Linked DNA regions of Homo sapiens: regions 1 and 2 are each linked to region 3. The links are contacts of gene promoters, found by promoter capture Hi-C in blood cells and fetal thymus (Javierre and others, 2016). All regions are on one chromosome and are shown on one strand. The core of a region is centred on a gene start or on the middle of the fragment in contact, and the rest is flanking DNA. Distances in the headings are between cores, read along the strand shown.

The links. The method cuts DNA at HindIII sites, captures the fragments that hold promoters and counts their contacts. A CHiCAGO score of 5 or more calls a contact.
Region 1: a fragment that was not itself captured here is called in contact with the fragment with the promoter of FBXO15 in region 3 in 1 of 17 cell types (endothelial precursors); the score reaches 6.2 in endothelial precursors.
Region 2: a fragment that was not itself captured here is called in contact with the fragment with the promoter of FBXO15 in region 3 in 1 of 17 cell types (endothelial precursors); the score reaches 10.7 in endothelial precursors.

The regions. Positions count from the first base shown.
Region 1 is chr18:72,741,720-72,745,678 of GRCh38, reverse strand. NETO1 (neuropilin and tolloid like 1) reads left to right here. Exons shown (of 11, transcript NM_138966.5): 11 at 1-1,923. Among named protein-coding and RNA genes, the nearest start is that of MIR548AV, 110 kb to the left of the region's middle. The HindIII fragment of the contact is 2,254 bases long and covers 721-2,974 here.
Region 2 is chr18:72,764,302-72,768,596 of GRCh38, reverse strand. The region is part of intron 7 of NETO1 (neuropilin and tolloid like 1); the gene reads left to right. Among named protein-coding and RNA genes, the nearest start is that of MIR548AV, 87 kb to the left of the region's middle. The HindIII fragment of the contact is 2,879 bases long and covers 1,409-4,287 here.
Region 3 is chr18:74,144,628-74,149,108 of GRCh38, reverse strand. It overlaps FBXO15 (F-box protein 15), which reads left to right and starts at 1,275. Exons shown (of 10, transcript NM_001142958.2): 1 at 1,275-1,439. The coding sequence starts at 1,324. TIMM21 (translocase of inner mitochondrial membrane 21) reads right to left here and starts at 586. Exons shown (of 6, transcript NM_014177.3): 1 at 1-586. The coding sequence starts at 300. RefSeq lists enhancers at 336-425, 506-555, 586-705 and a silencer at 1,396-1,545. The HindIII fragment of the contact is 3,433 bases long and covers 355-3,787 here.

The DNA of each region.
Region 1 (3,959 bases), core at 598-3,097, 1.4 Mb after region 3:
AAAAACGATTTAGTAGCTATATCAGACCTTATCACCTGAATGCAGCCTTTGGCCCACATTCTAAAGGTGGTGACACACATAGATAAGGAATGAGATGTCTCAAGACTTATAAGACATGTTATTTTAATAAATGATTATATTTTTTGATAAAGTGAATTCAAATATTACCAACCCAAGTGCTTTATTGATTTAACAAGATGATTTCAAATAATGCATTAAGTTAGCCTGCTGTGTTAATTTCATAAAGCTATTCTTTTTCATTTTATTTTTTCAAGTTTTCATTCACTTTTCAAAATAATGGTAGCATATAATCACATGCAATGCCAATGAATCCCCATATTAAGCTTCGTACTTCTGTCCAAATGTATTGTAGTTGCCTAATTTCAAGGTTCTAATTTGGAAATCTGATTTATTTTGTATGTTTTTATATACATACCAATTTTAAGCATTATCTTGCAAAGTAGACATAGGTGGTGTTTGATTTGCCATAATTAACTTGAATTTGATTTTGTAACCAAAATGTGGCTGTCCACATAATTGGAGATCAGTGTCTTTGGGCTTTTAATGGAGAACAAATCACATTGTGGTGTTGCTGGTTTTTCTGTTTCACATTTACTTTTGCTCTAGAAGTATTTCCGTGAGTCTGATGACTCCATAAGTTATGATCCTCAGTGTTAAGTAACTTAGACGGTTGGCATTACTTTAATATTCACTTAAGCTTCTGTATCATTTTTTTCTGTATTTTTCCCTTAGGAATTTAATTCGGGTCTTCCTCAAATTTTACAGCTTTAAAAAAATTCCATGAATGGGTTTTCCTCAACCTCAGAATATCATAATAAATTACAAGATATGACCCCCTGGTTCCTATTACCTTGATTAAAGTGGCGGCAATTAATTTACTGATGTTTTGTCAGTGAAATAAATAATAGCATCTTATGAAGTTTGTGTATCTCTGATGAAAATGAGTCATGTCAGATTCCCTCTCTGAAGGGAAGTTAAATAAACAACATTTTTAAAATTCTTTGAATTCTAAATAAATATGCTTTGAAAAGTGAGTTAGGGTTTTGTCTAATTGCACTGAGGCGAGCTAGCTTCGGTGCCATTTTTCTCTGTGCCCTTTTCCCTCCATGGATTCATTTCTATCTATTGCACTCTAGCGTAAAGGACCCAGCCAAGAAATTGTAAAATAGATTCAACAACAAAATAAACAGGTCTTGAGTTAATTATCAATCTCTATGCACTTAATTAATATTTCCCAAGCCCATCTTAAAGGTGTAATAAGGTAGAAAAATAAAAGTACACTGTTAAAATAGCCAGAAATGTTTTTATAAATAATCCTGCTAAATAAATCTGAGGCCCTTTGTTAATTTACAATTATGATTCATTTTATTAATAAACTTGTTTGAATTGTACCACAAATTTAACTGAATTGTATCATCAAAATAAATAAAACAGGGTAATAAAAATAACAATTAGGGTGACTGATGTCAGACACTCATATCAACTCATCATTTTCTTGTAGCCTCTGATTCTGTACTTTCTTGTGTATTATTAAAGAGGTAAATGCTCTCTTAAAATGCCTCTAGTTCCTCAGAGGTAGGAAAAATAAACTCAACCTGCTTTGGACTTGTGTATTTACTTGGGTTGGTTTCCAGAATCTCCTTATTCCTGAAACAGTATGATCATGTAGTTAAACTACTCCTTTATATCTGTAAGTACTGTGCAGCCAACATGTTCTTTTTTGTCCCCAACTTCTGCCATCTTTCCAACCTCTGAGGCATGCTATTTTATAGTGGTTTGCTCTTTGAAAAATTGTTTTTGTGCCCTCTCTTAATAGTCACAGATACTGACACAAAACTTAAAAATGACCAGAAAACAATGTATAAATTATTTAAAATAAAACATTCTTTTTATATCACATTATCAAATTTGTACTCTTTATTCACTTTTCCATTAAGTGTGATATCAATATAGCTAGGCTGTTTTGAGCTTGCACAGTCTGTCTACCAAGCTCCTTCCTAAGTACTTTGAGGGTAAAATGAAGAAGGCAGTCTAGGAAGGAACACAATTACAGAGCCCTGTAGAAGGCAGACTGCTTACAGGAGCTGTATAAGGAAAATTAAGCCCAACATTATGTGCTGTGTTGGCCATCATGCAAAGCTGATTGCAAAGCCCTGGTTACCTCCTTCATCATCTTCCATGGAAGATAAAAATAAATTCAAATGTTAATTCAATAGACATGATGCTTTATAATGAAGAAGTTTGTAGCAGAAACCTGAGAATATAGGTATCTTCTTAAGATCAAGAGAGGCTTTGTGAATAACTGACCTTCTAAGCAGGTCTTGAAGAATGGAGACAATGGTCAAATAGTAGTGCAGGGAGAAATTTCCACCTAGAGTAATTAAAGCAGATGTAGGCTCAGAAGATCATCTAATTGAGCTGGTTGGAACATAGACAGGAGACATACTAAGTATATTTGACAGAGTAGGTTTGAGTTTACATCATGATTTCTGAGTGCATGGAATACTATCCAAAGGAATTTACACTTTATTCAAGGGAGAATATTTTAAGATCTCAGCAGAATGGAACTTAAGATTTCTACTTTCAGTAGAAGCCTCTGACAGGTATGTTTGCTAAATTGAATGGGAGTGAAATACAGTAGAATCAAAACAGTGTAGAAACAAGACATGAGAAAGAGTAACGGGCAGATTGTTAGATGTCCAGGAATATTTGTCTGGCTTTTTTACTTCTACTATACTTTATTGTTTCAAGGTGATGGTTGACTAGCGAACATACTGAGGGTCACATGCCAAACACCATTTTGAGTGTTTTACATGTAATTTTTTTCCTTGGTCATCTTAGCAATTCTATGACTAATTAATAATATTTGTTGTTATTTATTGTACAGATGAGGAAACTGAAGAGTTTTAGTAACTTTTTTAAGATTACACAATAAACAATGATGAATCAAGCTTTGAAGCCAACCTCACCAACCACAAGATCAACCAACACTCTTCACCAATGTGTAATATAACCACGTTAATATTCAACATAGTACGTACTGCTGAAAGAAGTTGATACTTATTCATATTAACCCCGTAGTTTTGTGTTTCCTCATCTGTAAAAGTATGTATTATAACACCTTCTCTCCACCTTACAGCGTGTGAGGTTCAAATGACCATTCATTGGAAGATATTTTTTATATCCTATAATGCATTATAAAAATAAATCATTTTTCCTAAATCATGTGTAGACTTCATTTTATGATCGACATGGAACAAAAGTATCATCTATAAAGAGTAACAATGTAGAGTAACCCCCCTCAGAACTTGTCCACCATAAAATATATGACTTTCCAAATCCAATGACTCTGTGTCTGGATGATATTTCTTCCAGTGCTGTTTTGTTGCATCATCATGTCAAAGTGCTGTTGTTCATCATCTGTCATTCAACATTGAATGCCAGAGCTCCTGAGTAACCCCCAAAGCACTCATCATGAAGTATACACAGAAATAGCAACACTGGAAAGCAAATCTTGTATTTCAGTCACAGATAATTGTTTGGCATAAATTCACGTAATAGCATCCTGGTAGATAAGCAAGGAAGTAGACAGCTGTGTTGGTAAATGCAGTTTCATAAGCAACATTACAATATATAAAAGTGGTGTACTGCAGTGAAAATCAAATTTAGTTTTATTTCTTACTATTTATGTGCTCTTTAAAAATCTGTTTGAATCCTCTGAGTTTCACCTTTACTTTCTCTTTCTTTCTTTTCTTTCTTTCTCTCTTTTTCTTTCTTTCTCTTTTCCTTTCTTTTCTTTTCTTTCTTTTTCTCTTTTTCTTTTTCTTTTTTGAGACAGTCTCACTCTGACGCCCAGGCTGCAGTACAGTGGGGCTATCTCAGCTCACTGCAACGTCTGCCTCCTAGGCTCTAGCGATTTTCATGCCTCAGCCTCCTGA
Region 2 (4,295 bases), core at 1,599-4,098, 1.4 Mb after region 3:
TTCTTCATTTTGAAATCTTTATTCACACCTGCGAAATCCCTTTTTCCATATAAAGTAACATTCACAGGATGTGGGACTAAGATGTGGACAACTTGGAGAGCCATTATTTATTTGACCACAGTAGAATTTGTATTTCTGTGTTGTTTTTGCTTGTTTGTATTAAGCTGATGGGGTCTTTGACTGAAATTCTGAAAGCAATTATTAAGTTGACTTTAAGGCCAAAGGTATACAATGTCAACTGATAAAGATACATCTTAACACAAGTCTGCCTTCACACCTTGCTATTGAATAAGTGTTCTTTTATATAAAGAATTTATTTTTAATTTAAATATTTTATTACTGTAGAAAAAAATAAAAAAGTTAATCTGTCCTAAAGATTTAAATATGACTTTGGGCAAGTATAGATGTGTTTGAAATTTTAAAATAAAAGATAAACGTTTTTAGAACCAGAATCACAAAGTAGCCATTTCAGAAAATTGTTTTGCTTTTGAAAAAGATCTGAAATGGAATTACAATGTGTAAGAGCACATGTTCAGTGTCAGCCAGTTCTTCCACTTTCTTACGTGTGATGCCTGGACTTTAATCTTCAATTTCCTTTCTGTAAAACAGAGAAAACATCACAGGGCAACTGAAAGTTTTAAATGTATGTCTGGAACGTAGCAAATGGTCAGCAGAAGGTGGCTAGTATTGTATCCGTTAGTGAGATAACAACATACTGAAACTTGGGTAGTTAACACTTTCAAATACAGTGAGGCTATTGAGCAAAGGAAAATGAAATAAAATTGTATAATCTACCAGAAGCCAACCAACCCTCCTTTCCTCCCTCATTTCTTTCCTTCCTTCCTTCCTTCCTCTTACCTCCCTTCCTTCCTGTTTTTTTTAAAGCTTTTGATTGAGTTTGATGGCACCATAAAGAAAACAACTGTCAAAAGTATTCTAATATTTGAAATGAATTATCGATGGACTTTTATTACTGATATGGTTACTTAAACCATTGAAGAAGTATTATGTGTACAGACATGTAGTTTGATGAAATACTTAAAATTTAAAGTTAATTTTCTTAAGTAATTTGACCAAAACAAGTATCTTAAGTAATTTTGCTTCTTTGCCTATTCATTGAGTTACTGAGAAAATATTGCAGAACTTTCCATCGAACCATTTAGAATAATTTTTTTAAATAAAGTGTGTGGGTCTGCAAGGAATCACTTGGACAAGAATAAAGGCAGGAAATTTCCTGTAATTTTTAGTAGAATCATTGGGAATAATACATATTAATGTGTCTGATTCTAGCTTTACAACCATTGTGGTTTATGTCTGCCCCTGAAAATACACAGCATATGTTTGTTATATGGAAACAGAAAATTATTATTTTTAATTGATAGCCTCTGAACTAGCAGATTTTTAAGCTTGAGGTCATGGTGATGTGTTTACGCTTGGCTCTAATCTTCATTTACTGCAGGCCCCCTTTGTGGGACTTGGCATGTTCAATGAGAGCAAGTATTGCACCTTTATAAAAGAATAATGTGTCTAAACTAGCCACCTGCTACTGACATGTACATATTATGAAAACCAACACTGGCCCACATGTCCAGGGCCTAATAGTAATCAGCATGCAGATGCCAAAGATATTTAATACCCTCCTTATTGTAATTGTAATGTCTAACTACACACATTGAAGAGATCATTGTGGGGCTGAATCAAGGCAGACATAATGGAAGTATAAAAGTATGTAGTAATTTCTAGGGAAGATAAAATAATGGATACATTATGATAATAACGGATAAATTCACCCCACATACAAGGAAAGATTTTTTATATATGGAATGTAAGTTTCCAATGAAGATGTGTTTCTTAATGTAATATCTCTCAGAACAGTAAGAATATGTAATTTTTGCACAAAGATTGGGGAGGAATCTCATAAATATGTGTGAGATCAAATTGAAATTTGTGAACAGAATTTCTTGTATAAAAACAGATTAATATATGTACATCTTGATAATACTGGATATTTTCAAAGTAAAAGTCATATTGGAACAGAGTTTTGAAAACATATTGATTTTTCAAAACAACTATGAAGGTGATAAAGGACATGAAAAAAAGATACACAAATCTATTTCTGGCCTCAAGTCTGGTCACCATTTTTCAAATAAAATGTCATTTCCTCTAATTACATAGCCTATGGGCCATTTTAAGTTTCAATGTGCTGACAAGGGAAATTTTTCCATTTGTTTTGGAAAAAAATTGTTTTGTGGGAAGTTCTGATGGCCAAATATATTTTATATATTTTTTATATTTTTGTTTGTGTAGAGTACCACAATTAAAAATGATAGTAGCAAGCTACACACACACACACACACACACACACACACACACACATATTTTTTTTTTTCTGAGACTGAGTCTCACTCTGTCACCCAGGCTGAAGGGCAGTGGCACAATCTCGACTCACTGCAACCTCCACCTCCTGGGTTCAAACGATTCTCCCCGCTCAGCCTCCTGAGTAGAGGGATTACAGACATGCACCACCACACCAGTCTACTTTTTGTATTTTTAGTAGAGATGAGTTCTCACCATGTTGACCGAGCTGGTCTTGAACTCCTGACCTCAAATGACCCACCCACCTCGGCCTCCCGAAGTGCTGATATTACAGATGTTAGCCACTGTGCCCAGCCAAGCTATGTATTTTTAATGACATTTTTGAAGTTTTTAAAAATTTGCATCTTCAGTTGATTACTCATAATTGATATCTCTAATGTTTTATTTTCTTTCAAGTTTATTTTTTAAAGTTTTGCTGTTATTTAAAAATTTAAGATCATTGTCAGACATTAATGAGAAGATGGCATTTAATATTCATTGTGTTGCTTAAATAATTTTTATTCTGGCCTGGCACTGTGGCTCACGCCTGTAACCTCAGCACTTTGGGAGGCCAAGGTGGGTGGATCATGAGGCCAGAAGTTCAAGACCATCCTGGCCAAGATGATGAAACCCCATCTCTACGGAAAATACAAAAATTAGCCAGGCACAGTGACAGGTGCCTGTAATCCCAGCTACTCGGGAGGCTGAGACACGAGAATTGCTTGAACCTGGGCAGCAGAAGTTGCAGTGAGCTGAGATCATGCCACTTCACTCCAGCCTGGACAACAGAGTGAGACTTCATCTCCAATTAAAAAAAAAAAGAATTTTTATTGTGATATATAGTCTGTCACCAAGTATTTATGAAGCATCTACAAAGTGGTACATCTGGTTGCCAGACTTTTTAAGAGGAAGCAACAAGGCACAGATAAGTTAACTCAAAGGGATCAGCCCAAGCCCTAGTATGTATTGTGGGAAAACCAACATGGGTGATGTGGTGGGAAGGATGAGGGCAGGATGACCTGGTGGTTATGGTGGGTGACATCTGAGGTTAGGAAGAATTCTATAAATGTTTAGGGTGAGCAGAGGCTGTGAGAATATAAATCACTTGCTGTGTACTAAGGGGTACAAGGAGTTTGGAAATTAACCTAACATTATTGGAAAGTGTTTTGGGGTGTCTTCAACAAAGTGAAATGTGGCCTGATTTATACTTTCAGATGGCCAAGGTCCCCATGGTTTCTGTGTCCCTGAACTCCATGTAAGATTGCTGTCAGTGAATGGTGGCCTGGCTCATTCACAGCAGTGGAGACCTCAACAAGAGCTTTGTATTGAGATAGAGCCATGCAAGAGATGGCCACTGGCTCAACGGTATCCGGGGAAGAAAGGACCCAAGGATGGTCTTGAGCCTTTCGCCTGAACACCTGAGGGGATGGTTGTGCCCTTTGTTAATGCCAGGAAGGTGTGGGAGGTGAGAATTAAAAAGGAAAATGTGGATAAGAGGAAGAGGGTGATAATCATTTTGCTTAGGCCCATCAGCCATATTCTGTTTGCGATGGTAATTACAGTTCCAAATGGAGACGTTAAGTAGGAATTTCAATATTCAGGGTAAGTCTGGATCTCACACAGTAGTCAGAGCTGGGGATGTAAGCCCCCTCGTTAGTGGGGGCTCTGTGTCTGATGAAAATTGCCGAGAGAGAGGACAGAGGAAATAAGGGACCTGTGACAGCCTCAGGGGGCTCAGCTACAGGGGTCTGTAAGACACTAGCATAGCGGCCTGAGAAGGCAGGGGGAAAATCACCTTAGTTACCTGAACTGATAAACATTAGTAATAAATAAAAGTAAGTATGCTAGATTTTGCTCTTCAATGTGAATTCATGACCTAACTATAGAATGTTGATATGTGTCATATTTACATATTCATGTAAGTGTTAAGCTTTGCTTCC
Region 3 (4,481 bases), core at 26-2,525:
TTTTTGTGATGTTGGGACGGCGGTTCCCCCTCTCTGACTCCTGTGCACAGACACTTGTTTGCTGCCATCCTCCTTTGCTTTTCGGGGGCTCGGTCCCTGCGTCCAGATGGTTTTCTGGGTGACTCCAAGAATACATCTAGGTCGCAGCGTTTTCTTTTGATATTGAAGCCCACATCTCAAACTGGGCTCAGTCTTCAAGCACGCTTTGTTAAGCACGATGTATGGCAAAAGCAATCGCTTTGCCGAGGACCTGTGCAGCTTCTCCGTATACTGTACGGCTCGTAGAAAAGTACAAATCATGTTCACGGAAAATCGTTCCGCTTAGGGACGATGCTAACTACAATTAGGAAAGCTTTAGGGTTCACTACACATGCGGCCGGACACGTACTCAAGCCTATACGTTTACATTACATGGGGTGTTAGGCAAAAACGTCAGTTTCCGCAGCGTAAATGAAAACGAAAAGTCTCCAGGGAGAACCTGATGTCTACCTTCCCTTCTGTCTTCTTTCCATTTTAATTAACAGGCTCTGATCACCTTCTGGGCTGACATTCACAGTGTCCCCGCCATGCCTTCGCAAAGTCACCTGGGAAACCCCCGTCTTCCTGGGAATAGTAGTTTGAAAACCTCGCTCTTAACTGGGATACGGCAAAGAGGCGCGCAAAAGAGACTACATCTCCCACAATTCAAGGCGGCCAGAGCACGGCGCAGGTCCTTCCCGCGCCCCCAGACGCCTCCGCGCCCAGCGTCGGCGCAGACGCTGCGCGTCCCTGGAGCGGCGGAAAGTGGGGTGTTGGTGGGGGAATTGGTACCACCCACCCTACGTGGTTCAGGCGGGACTTGCAAAAGCCAAATTAGCAGTTACAATCTACGTGTTTTCCTGATCCTTATAGAGAGGACTGTGCACAGTGGGAAATACCCCCTTGGACTGTGGTCTTGCCAATTCCGCGTGGGCAAATGATTTAGTTTTTGCGTTTTACTGTGTTTTCAGAAAAACTGGACAATAAAGAGTCAGCAAGTGGGGATGAACGAGGCCGCTGCAAAGCAGGCACCGGTTTCCTAAATGGTTAAGCCGCGAACTTGGCTTGGCGCCCTAGGCGGCAGAATGTTAGGGGTGGGTAAGGAAGCCGAGGCCCGGAAGTTTCTAGAAGCCCGCTCTGTGAGCGGGTGTCTGGCGCGGTGCCGTCTGCGCAAGGGTGGGCATACCGTTACTTTTGCTCACGCGCGCATGCGCATAAGGGGTGTGGCGACGTGCGGGCGTGGGGGCGGTGCGTGCACTCTTCGTTTCAGCCCTGGCGCGGTCCTGTGGTGAACTCCTTGTCTCTATGGCGACTGGACGCGGTCGGATCTTGCAGCAGCACTGGCTCGGCCTCCAGACGCTGCGCGGGCCCAGCAGGGGCGGTGGCGCGGCCCGGGGGCGCGCCAGGGCCTTTGGGTGCAGGTGACTGTAGGGCCTGCGGGTGGGGTCCCCTGGCGGGAAGCCCGTCACTGCGCGGCCCCGCTCTCTTCACCGTGTATTTTATTCGTCCAGCTTGGCGCAAGGCCCGTGGCCGTCTTCAACGTGAGAAGGGTATGGAAGAACGACCGGAGGAAATCCTTTCTACCCTGCAACGTGGGGTACCCTAAGTTATGACACAAATAGAGTAGCCTCTCGGGGAAATATTTTTTCTTGCGGCGCCTGTGGCCGGGGATGCGCGCACCTGCCAGGACAGGTGCAGGTCCAAGAGGTCGTTTCTCCGGGATGCGTGCCCTAAATTCACGTGTGCTCCGCCCCTGCCTTCGTATTTTCGCTCTTCTGTAACCAAGAATCTCCCTTCGTGTTTTTCATGACCTTACAACTTAGGGAAGTAGAGTCTGTTCATCAAAACCTTATCAGTTGACACCCTCATCCCCCAAGCAGATACCTCGGGCAGGCAGGTTGGTCTGGCGGGTGGGGGGCAGCACTTTCTGCACCTCCAACGTCAAGGCTAAGTTGCCATCTACATTGCCAGGTCTTGCTCATCTGCTTTCCAGAAGCATCTTCAGCGTGAAGAAGTAAAATGAGCCAGTGCATCAGAAGTATCAGCATGCATAATGGTACCTTATGAAATCCCTCTCATTATATCGTGAGCTGTTCCCTAGCTGTGTACCCATCACTGCAGTTAGTTTACAGATGGAGGGATAATGCCAAGAATGGTTTACATTCTTGAGGATTATCTTTCTGCTTGTAAGACTCCTTGATTTATAAATAGGGAAAGTCATGCATATTTTGCCTTCTAATAAACCAATGGTCTATGTTTAAGCACACAAAGGGAGTCTATTACATACTAGTTGAACTACTTGTTTTTTCCCCCTGAATCTCCAGAACTATGTCCTGTGTCCTCTCTAGGTCTCCATTACTTCCACTTACCTGTTTTCAGAAGCCCAGCCCTGTTGCTTAGTGCTGTGATAATAGTTCTTAATTGAATACCTATAATGCTAGACATACCACAAGCCTTGTCACAAATAGAATGGTGACAATGCCTGCAAAAATTCTTTTATGTAGGAGAAAAAGCAGGAATTTAAATAGGAAACTTGAACTTTTAATCAATTTGCTGCTATTACTAAAATTAGTCTTTACATAGTGCTCTATTAGGGGGAAGCAGAATGATTTTTATATGATGAATCTTTTATCCTTTGTAAGTTGAGTGAACTTCCTGGATTGATATAATTAGAGGGCCTGTCATTATGCCTGGCATGGGAACCTGCATTTCAAGCTGATTTGGAAATGTATGCATTATTTTTGGTAAAGAAAAGTCCGCTGCTAAAAATAGAATGATTGACTATGGTCAAAGCAGGTGGTTATTTTAATATATCGCTGTGGAAAATTAGATGTTGTTAAGGAATCAGTGTTCCCTTTTAACACAAAATGTGAATATGTATAAATATCACAAACTGTAAGAAGTGTAGCAGAAAGCGTATTAAGTTGGCTTAATTTGTACCTGCTGTAATTTATTTGATTTGCCAGATATTTAAAATGAAGCACAGTCATTAGGTTTTTAAAATATTGGACTTATTGAAAGCTATCAGACAAAAACCTGTCACTTGAAAAAAAGTGTTTTCAAACTAAATTTATCTTGCTAAATGTATCAGTGTATGTCTACACTTAACCTTGTAGACGTATAGATTCGCATAAAAACATAAATAGAACTTGCTGATTTGTTAATTATGTGGACCTTAAAAATGTGCAATTGGGGCCGGGTGCAGTGGCTCACGCCTGTGATCCCAGCACTTTGGGAGGCGGAGGCGGGCAGATCTGGAGGTGAGGAGATCGAGACCATCCTGGCTAACACTGTGAAACCCCGTCTCTACTAAAAATACAAAAAAATTAGCCCGGCATGGTGGCGGGCGCCTGTAGGCTCAGGTACTCAGGAGGCTGAGGCAGGAGAATGGCGTGAACCCAGGAGGCGGAGCTTGCAGTGAGCCGAGATAGCGCCACTGCACTCCAGCCTGGGCGACAGAGCCAGACTCTGTCGCAAAAAAAAAAAAAAAAAAAAAGTGCAGTTGGTTTATTTTATGGATAAATAGAAATGTGTTTCCAATAGTGTTAAAAGGTACACTGATAAGATGTATGGTCTCATGTAAGACATGGTACAGAGAGCTCTGACAGGACATTAAGGAGATGGGCGTCTCAGAGACTGTCTTTGCTTCTAGCTTGGGACCTTAAGTTTCTTTAGTTGCCTTGTTAGAGCCTTAGCCTTGTAAACTGAAATGAGGGACTCTATGAGATCCATTTTAATTGTGAAAAAACAAAACAGCAAGAAATAAGCTTTGACGTTTTAAAAGTGTGAAAACATGTTTGTAATAAAATAGCCTTCATATTCCAATTAAATAAAGGATGAAATGTCTTAAAGCACTTACACATTACCTTGTGCAGAGTATATGATTAAGAAGTATTTGTAGAATTGAACTAACTAAGCCCTGTTAAATGTTTTAGCCAAAGATAGAGGCATATCCATTCGTTACTGAATTAGGGTTTCAGATTAGGGAAAAGCATTTGGTACTTAAAAAAAATAACTAGTACCAAACAGGATTTATTTGCTTAATCGTTATTTAAAACTATCTTTGAGTGGGGAGAGTTACAGCATGACTTTGAGGAACTTACTAAGATCATTTTATTTACATATATTTTATATGCATATATGTTTACAAAACAGGTGACTTTATTTCACTGGTGTTTTCACAGTAATCTTTCATAAATTCGGGACACACAAGTTAAGGTTTTCAGTAAGAACTTGGTGGTGGATTAAGCCAGTATGTATTCTTGAAACATCTAAGCACCCTGGCGCTGTGCTTCTCAAACGAGTAGTTGTAGTGGGTGGGGAACACATAGAGCATCTTCTTTGTCTGCAAAATCAACACAAAGGCTTTGGGGAAAATGTTAAATAATTTAACTGGTAAATAATATAATACATTTTTATGATAGGACAAAGACAGATTATTTAGTAGAATGCAGTATTTGCTT